Linked DNA regions of Homo sapiens: region 1 is linked to region 2. The links are contacts of gene promoters, found by promoter capture Hi-C in blood cells and fetal thymus (Javierre and others, 2016). All regions are on one chromosome and are shown on one strand. Each heading gives the region's core, a stretch centred on a gene start or on the middle of the fragment in contact. The rest is flanking DNA. Distances are from core to core; before and after follow the strand shown. Region 1 overlaps FOXO3 (forkhead box O3). Region 2 holds the start of ARMC2 (armadillo repeat containing 2).

Evidence for each region. Contacts are between HindIII fragments. The CHiCAGO score rates a contact against its expected background, and 5 or more counts as called.
Region 1: a contact is called between a fragment that was not itself captured here and the fragment with the promoter of ARMC2 in region 2, in 16 of 17 cell types (megakaryocytes, M1 macrophages, monocytes and 13 more). The highest score is 14.0, in megakaryocytes.

The regions. Positions count from the first base shown.
Region 1 is chr6:108,562,306-108,565,280 of GRCh38, forward strand. All of the region lies in intron 1 of FOXO3 (forkhead box O3), which reads left to right. Among named protein-coding and RNA genes, the nearest start is that of FOXO3, 2.9 kb to the left of the region's middle. RefSeq lists an enhancer at 401-695. The HindIII fragment of the contact is 3,367 bases long and covers 1-2,975 here.
Region 2 is chr6:108,847,008-108,850,253 of GRCh38, forward strand. ARMC2 (armadillo repeat containing 2) reads left to right here and starts at 1,415. Exons shown (of 18, transcript NM_032131.6): 1 at 1,415-1,539. RefSeq lists a silencer at 1,673-1,772. The HindIII fragment of the contact is 2,745 bases long and covers 1,190-3,246 here.

The DNA.
Region 1 (2,975 bases), core at 167-2,666, 280 kb before region 2:
TAGCTGAATGAGAACCTTCGGGTCCAAGTTTCAGCTTGTGGGTGTTAACACCTACAGGCACATCGATCCGATTAGAAAAAGCAGTGGTTGCAAACCTTTTCCTGGACGGCTTCCTTTCCTTGCCTATATTGATACCTTTTCTTCTCGGAGATGTCGCTCCAGTAAACCTGCTTCTGACTAGCTGCTTCTGAAATGTTCTGGGGCCTCGAACCGGCCGGTCTGGCCACCTCAATCCAGACTGGCTGCACCCGCTGCTCCCGCCGAGGCCTGGATTCAGGCACTGTTTGAGGGAAGGGCTCTGGTGTGGGGGACGCGGGGCCTGCGCTTCATTCACTCTGGCGTTTGGGAGGAGGTTTGGGGGCTGGGCCGGGCCGTAATGGCTTCTACCTGTAAATGAACCCGAAGAGAGACTCTCTACCGTTCCTTATCATCCTCTTGGGGCACGGGACACGTGGTAGGGAGAGAGGTGTGGAAAGGCCTATGATGTAATGACTTCCTGCAGTTGGGTATCCAAAGAGATTAACTCCTCTGCCCCTGCTGGGCTGCTGATATCCAGCTGCTTTCCTCTTCCTAGGCACCTCCCTGGCCCCTTCCCCCAAGACAGTGTGTGTCAGTACCAGGCCAAAGAGTCCTGTGCGATTGGAGATATACATCTCTTATCAGCTGCCCATATTTGCAATTTAGCTTAGATTTTTTTTTGTTTTGTTTTATGTAAAAGAAGTAGTTGCTTCCTCCTTCCCTTTCTTCATTGTCATTGGGGAGCCCTCTGTCTTCCTGGGTTTCAGGAGGTATAAAAATAAGAACAGTTTAATCTTAGTGGAGAATTCAATGGAAGCACTGGAGACGAGCCTGTAGATGAAAAAGTTAAAGAACTTAATGTAGAGAATGTTTTATTTTGCTTCTAGAAAACCCTTGCAAAGTTAAATACGGCTTATATCAGAGAGGCTTTGTATTAGATACTTTAAAAGCAAAACACGTGTGCTTTGATATTAATCCACTAATGTGTCTCATTTCTTTTAACAAATGCTTACATTATGAGTCTTATATTTGGTTTAATTCAATTGCTTTGTAAAAGAATGCCAGGTGTATGATACGAGAGTTCTTTACAGAAAGGATGAAAGTTAGACAATTCCATTTGAAAAGAGCACTAGTGTGATATGTTTTAAAACTGGGTTTCCAAGTGGATGGGAAGGGTTAATCAGTGTATAGTATCAGGAAGGCGTAAGCGGACAGGATCTGAGAACATGGATTTGGGGGTTCGAAATGTTTTTCAGATTTCTCTCACTTGAAATTTAGTCTTGCATGTTTGAATTTGGTGAGGAGAATACGTTAGTGAAAAGTTAGTTAACTTTAAACTTAGTTAAAACGTTAACGTAGGAAGGCGTTTTCACCTTTCCTGTGATTTTTAAGGTTACAAAAATAATTTAATTTCACAAATATTTCTTGTTATTTTGTTTATAGTTAAATATAATAAGTTTAATGAACTTTATTTTTGGGGGGAAGATTTACATGAGATAATGGTATTACCAAAAGTAGCCGCGAATTGAGATTGGGCTAGATACATTTTCATATAGTTTGTAGGACTTGCAATACAGATTTTGGGACTAGTCATAAACTTTATGGTTTTATGTCATCGTTTTTTTGTCTTATGGTTTTTTTTTTTTACCCTTCTCTGCTATCTCATTTCTCTTCAACTAAAATCTTAGAAAATACTGTAAATTGAAATTCTCAAGGCTTAATATGCTTAATACAGGGCACACATTTTATGATTCTTTTACCTTAAAATTTTTTACCAATTCCATTTCTGAGTGTCACATGACAACTAATCCTTGACGACTAAAGGGATATAATTTTGTTAGAGTTTTTATAAGATGATCTTCATCAAAAGATGCAGCCATGCAGGAACTTTCAAATCTTTGATGATGGAGAAGGCCCTTTGAAACTGGAGCTGGTTTTATATTTTGATTATGACTAATAGGCAACCTTTTTTTGTGTGTGCTTGTGGTTTAGTGGAAGAAGAGGGAAAAGGGAGAGATCAGGAGCTAATTGTGACCCATTTCCAAGTGTCCAAGTTTAGGAGTTGATTCTTGTCATGATTAGTCATTTTGGAAGCACGCATGTGCATTTAAACCACACTACTTTCATTCTGAGTAATGTAAGAGGATTTTTAACTTCCAAAAATGTCTAGAATTCAGGTTAACGTCTCCTAGTCATGTGTGCATAAAGGGCACGGTATGCAGGGCCTTACTTCTTTTCAGGCTATTTGGGCCATTGCATTATGAGACCTTGTAACCAAAATTATCACCCTAACATCATAAAATGAAAGAATTAGAAAAGAGGACTTAGAGATCAGAATCTAAATCAGTGGTTCTCAGCCCTGGTTGCATGTTTGAATTACCTGGGAACTTCTGAAAAATACAAATACCCAGAGAATTTGATATAATTTGGCTTGTGTGTGGCTTAGCATTGATGGTTTTGTGTTTTGTTTTTTTTTTTCAAGTTTCTTAGGTGATTCTAATGTATAGTTAGGATGAAGTTTTCTGATCTAGTTCAACCCTCTTATTTTACTGGTGAAAAACCTGATTTTTGGAAAAGCTAATGACTTTCTTAAGATCACACAGCTAGTTAGTAGAGAGGTAATTAGTAGCCACAGTTCTAGAGGTTTTTGTTTTCCATTTTCTTCTTTAAATTGATCTTTTTTAAAAGGTCATTTGCTAGGTAATGGATAGTCTCACATAAGTAGCGCTTGCTTTCCTGAAAGGCTTATTTGCCTCTCAATCTAAAAACATCTTGCTTATTATTTCAGCATCAAAAGGATGGGCAAATGTAGATGGAGGCTGAGTGAGTGTATCATGTTTGCATAGCTGTCCAGTGCCTGTCAGTAGGGGTACTTAGGAACTATGAAGTGATAAAAGAGGTAAGAAGGATAGCATTTTAACAAAAAGAGGAAGCCCTTGGTTACTTACATTTGTCAG
Region 2 (3,246 bases), core at 165-2,664:
GAGCTGCTTTAACCATAAGCCAGCACAGCAAGCTTGAAGCTGCTCAACTCCAGGAAGAAATGCTCCATCTCCTTCCTTCTCCTCCTCCTCCTCACTGCCAGTTTGATCCAAGCTGGGCCTTAAACAACCTCTAGTGAATAGAGGGGCGGGTGGGGGTCGGGGACAAGCCTAAGCCTAGTGCACCCCTTCAGGGAAGGCCAGCTAGAGACCTTAAGCCTGGGGCTGGAATGGGGGAGGAAGACTTTTTGAAGTTTGATGCATTTGTTTATATCTTGCACCCAACATTATAGTTTTGAAATGAAGCTGTGGTTGAGATTTAGTTACAACAAGACTGTCAGTTATCTAAGAATGAGCAGAAAAATCCAGGGCTGTTTCGGGTCCTAAAATTATCCAATCAACGAATAGGTATTTATTTTCTGTTATGTTTGAAATCCTCTTGAGTATTTTGAAGAATATTTACATTCCTTTAGTTCAGGTTAGTATAATTTCCCACCTGGCACGATGCCTTACACATAGTATGTGCTCAAAAATATTTTCAATTTAATTATTCTTTACAAGATGCTTAGCACCAAGGGAAGTGGCATTTTCCCAGTGTTGATGACAAATAGCACTTCAGCTGGAAAATCTCCATATTTATAAAACGTGGTGCAAACCTGAATGGAGAGTGCTTATGATCTCACTTTTATTTAACACTGTACAGTGTTGCTAAATGGTCTAACAGGAGAAAAGGGAATTTAAACTAGAAACACATAAATGGAGTGCTTTTTGCCGTTCAACTGTGATGATGCACGAACAAAAAACGATTGGCCACGGGAGACCTAGACTGGAATCTCCTTCTCCTGCTCACTACACCTCAGGCCCCCAGTTCCTCTCCTGTGGATGGGGACGCCAGGCTGCCTACCTCAGACTCAGAAGGTACGATTACGTGCATACACTCTGCGAACTGAAGGGCTGTACAAATGCAAGGGCTTAATAACAGCCAACAGTTTAATATTCGTTGATTGCCACGTGCATAGCGCTTTACATCTATTTTCTCATGCAGTCTTCATAACAGCCCAAGACCTACCTAGGTACTATTATTAATATTTCCTGCCACTTGACATCGGAGGAAACAGAAGCTCAGCAAGTGGCTCCAGGTTATACAGAGCCCTAACCTGAGCCAGTAAATCCTTCTTACCCACAAGCATTAAGCTTCCGTCCTGCCTGCTGTTATTTAACAGAGGTGCTGGGATCCGGCAGGGGAGCAACAAATGTGGTTCGGCAAATTGCTAAACGAAAAGCGGACACCCGCCCACGACGCCTGCTCTGATCTGACCTCCCGGCCTACAGCCCTCTCCAGGCTCCTCCCACCCGCTCCGGCCGTCGCCACGCCTCGGAGCTTCTACGCATGCGTTGGCGGGACCCGCGCAGGCCCAGTGGCCGAGCGGCGTCGTGGGGTTACCCCGCCCGCGCCAGCGCTGCATCCCTGGCCGCTACCCGGGGAGAGCCGGAGGATGAATTGAACCTCGCAGCCGCTGCTATCTCCAGTGCTCATCACAGGTGCTTTGGGTCAGGTCGGAAGCCTCCTTCCCTGAGCCCTCGCCAAGCTCATTCCCCGGCCCGCCTCTCCCGCCCTGCAGCGGCCTGGCCCTGCGGTCTGGCTGCCGGGGCGGCGGCGGGAGGTAGTTTGTGTACGGTTACCATGGAGACGCTGGCTGCGGGGCGAAGTGGGAGGGTGGCCGGGCGGGGTGAGGATGCTGCTGCGCCCTGCCCTGGCCGGGACCGTGGAGGAGCGGGCACTGCCGTGGGTGGGGGAGCCGCTGTCCGAGCGGGAGGTGAGGTGTCCCCAGCGGCTCCCCAGGGACCCTTCCTGCCGTCGTCCGCCTGTGTGTCCTCGGATGGGGTAGAGAGACGATGAGTGCCCTGTGCATGCTGTCAGGGGTCCGGAGCGGTTGTCTTTTATTTATGTACTGTCGCACTTAGCCAAGTGCGTGGTGCTTAATAAGAAGCCCAGTAATATTTGTTGAATGAGAGTGGTAGACTAAGGGGCTTTGTCTAGGCAGGCGGTGACCGGGCCAGAGTCATACAGTTTATATCTGGGCACTTCCAGGCAACAGGGCCTCAATAAATAAAAACGTATGTGTAACAATATTTAACATACTTTAAAATCATGGAGTGTATACATAATGCCTTTTGTGATCCATTCCCACAAGTAACACAACAGATCTTACGTCCCACCCTGATTTATAATAATTATACTTTAATTTGGTTGAAAAGCAAGCACCATTTATTATATTTATCCTGGTTTCTTAATCTATGGGATTCTGGTTGTTGATGTTGATTTGGCATAGCTGATATTCAATAAAATGCTTAATAAAAATTATCTGTTTTCATAAAGGCAAGTACCACCACCCACCTTTTAAAAGGAGAAGTACGTAATGTAAATGACGAGTTGATGGGTGCAGCAAACCAACATGGCACATGTATACCTATGTATCAAACCTGTACATTGTGCACATGTACCCTAGAACTTAAAGTATAATAATAAAAAAAAACTTATGTATAGAAACACTGAACAAACGTCATTCTCTCTTTTGCAATTTCTTTTTTTAAATGTAGTTTTTCATTCGTGGAAATGATTTTGCTGTATCCTTTTATCATGTAGCACTTGGGCAATAATTGTTAACATCTTTAAGGGCCATATTTTAAAATGTTAACATTTTTAAAGCACTGTGCTAACGCACTTTACATGTATTATATCATTTAATTCTTCAAACAATCCTATGGGGCAATTATTATTACTATCCACCTTTTATAGATGAGGAAACTGATGCTTAGAGATATTAGAGGCATTGCCTAAGGTCACATGGCTGTGAATTGTCAGCATTTAAACCCTTAGTCCAGCATCTAAGCACTTAACCACTGCCTCTTTGGATGCTCATATTAATACAAAAATGATTCAGAGTTATGGAAGGGTCCTGAGTATTTGATTTGCAGGGAAGACTGTGAAGCTGGCCTGCTTTTCCCCTGTTGCAGACATCCTGGTAGTGCAGTGTTGCATTTAGCAAGAAGGCTCTGGTTCCAGTGGCTATTAGCAGCAACGATAAAGACAGGTCTTTATAATTAGTTATAAACTTCTATAAATTATGACTCTGAGCTTTCACCCAGACCAGTAGGAAATATCTTGTTGAAAAAAAAGTTCTTCACTTTCAAATTTCCTACTGCTGGTGGTGTTCACCCTCTAGAGGTCCTGTGGATACCATGGAC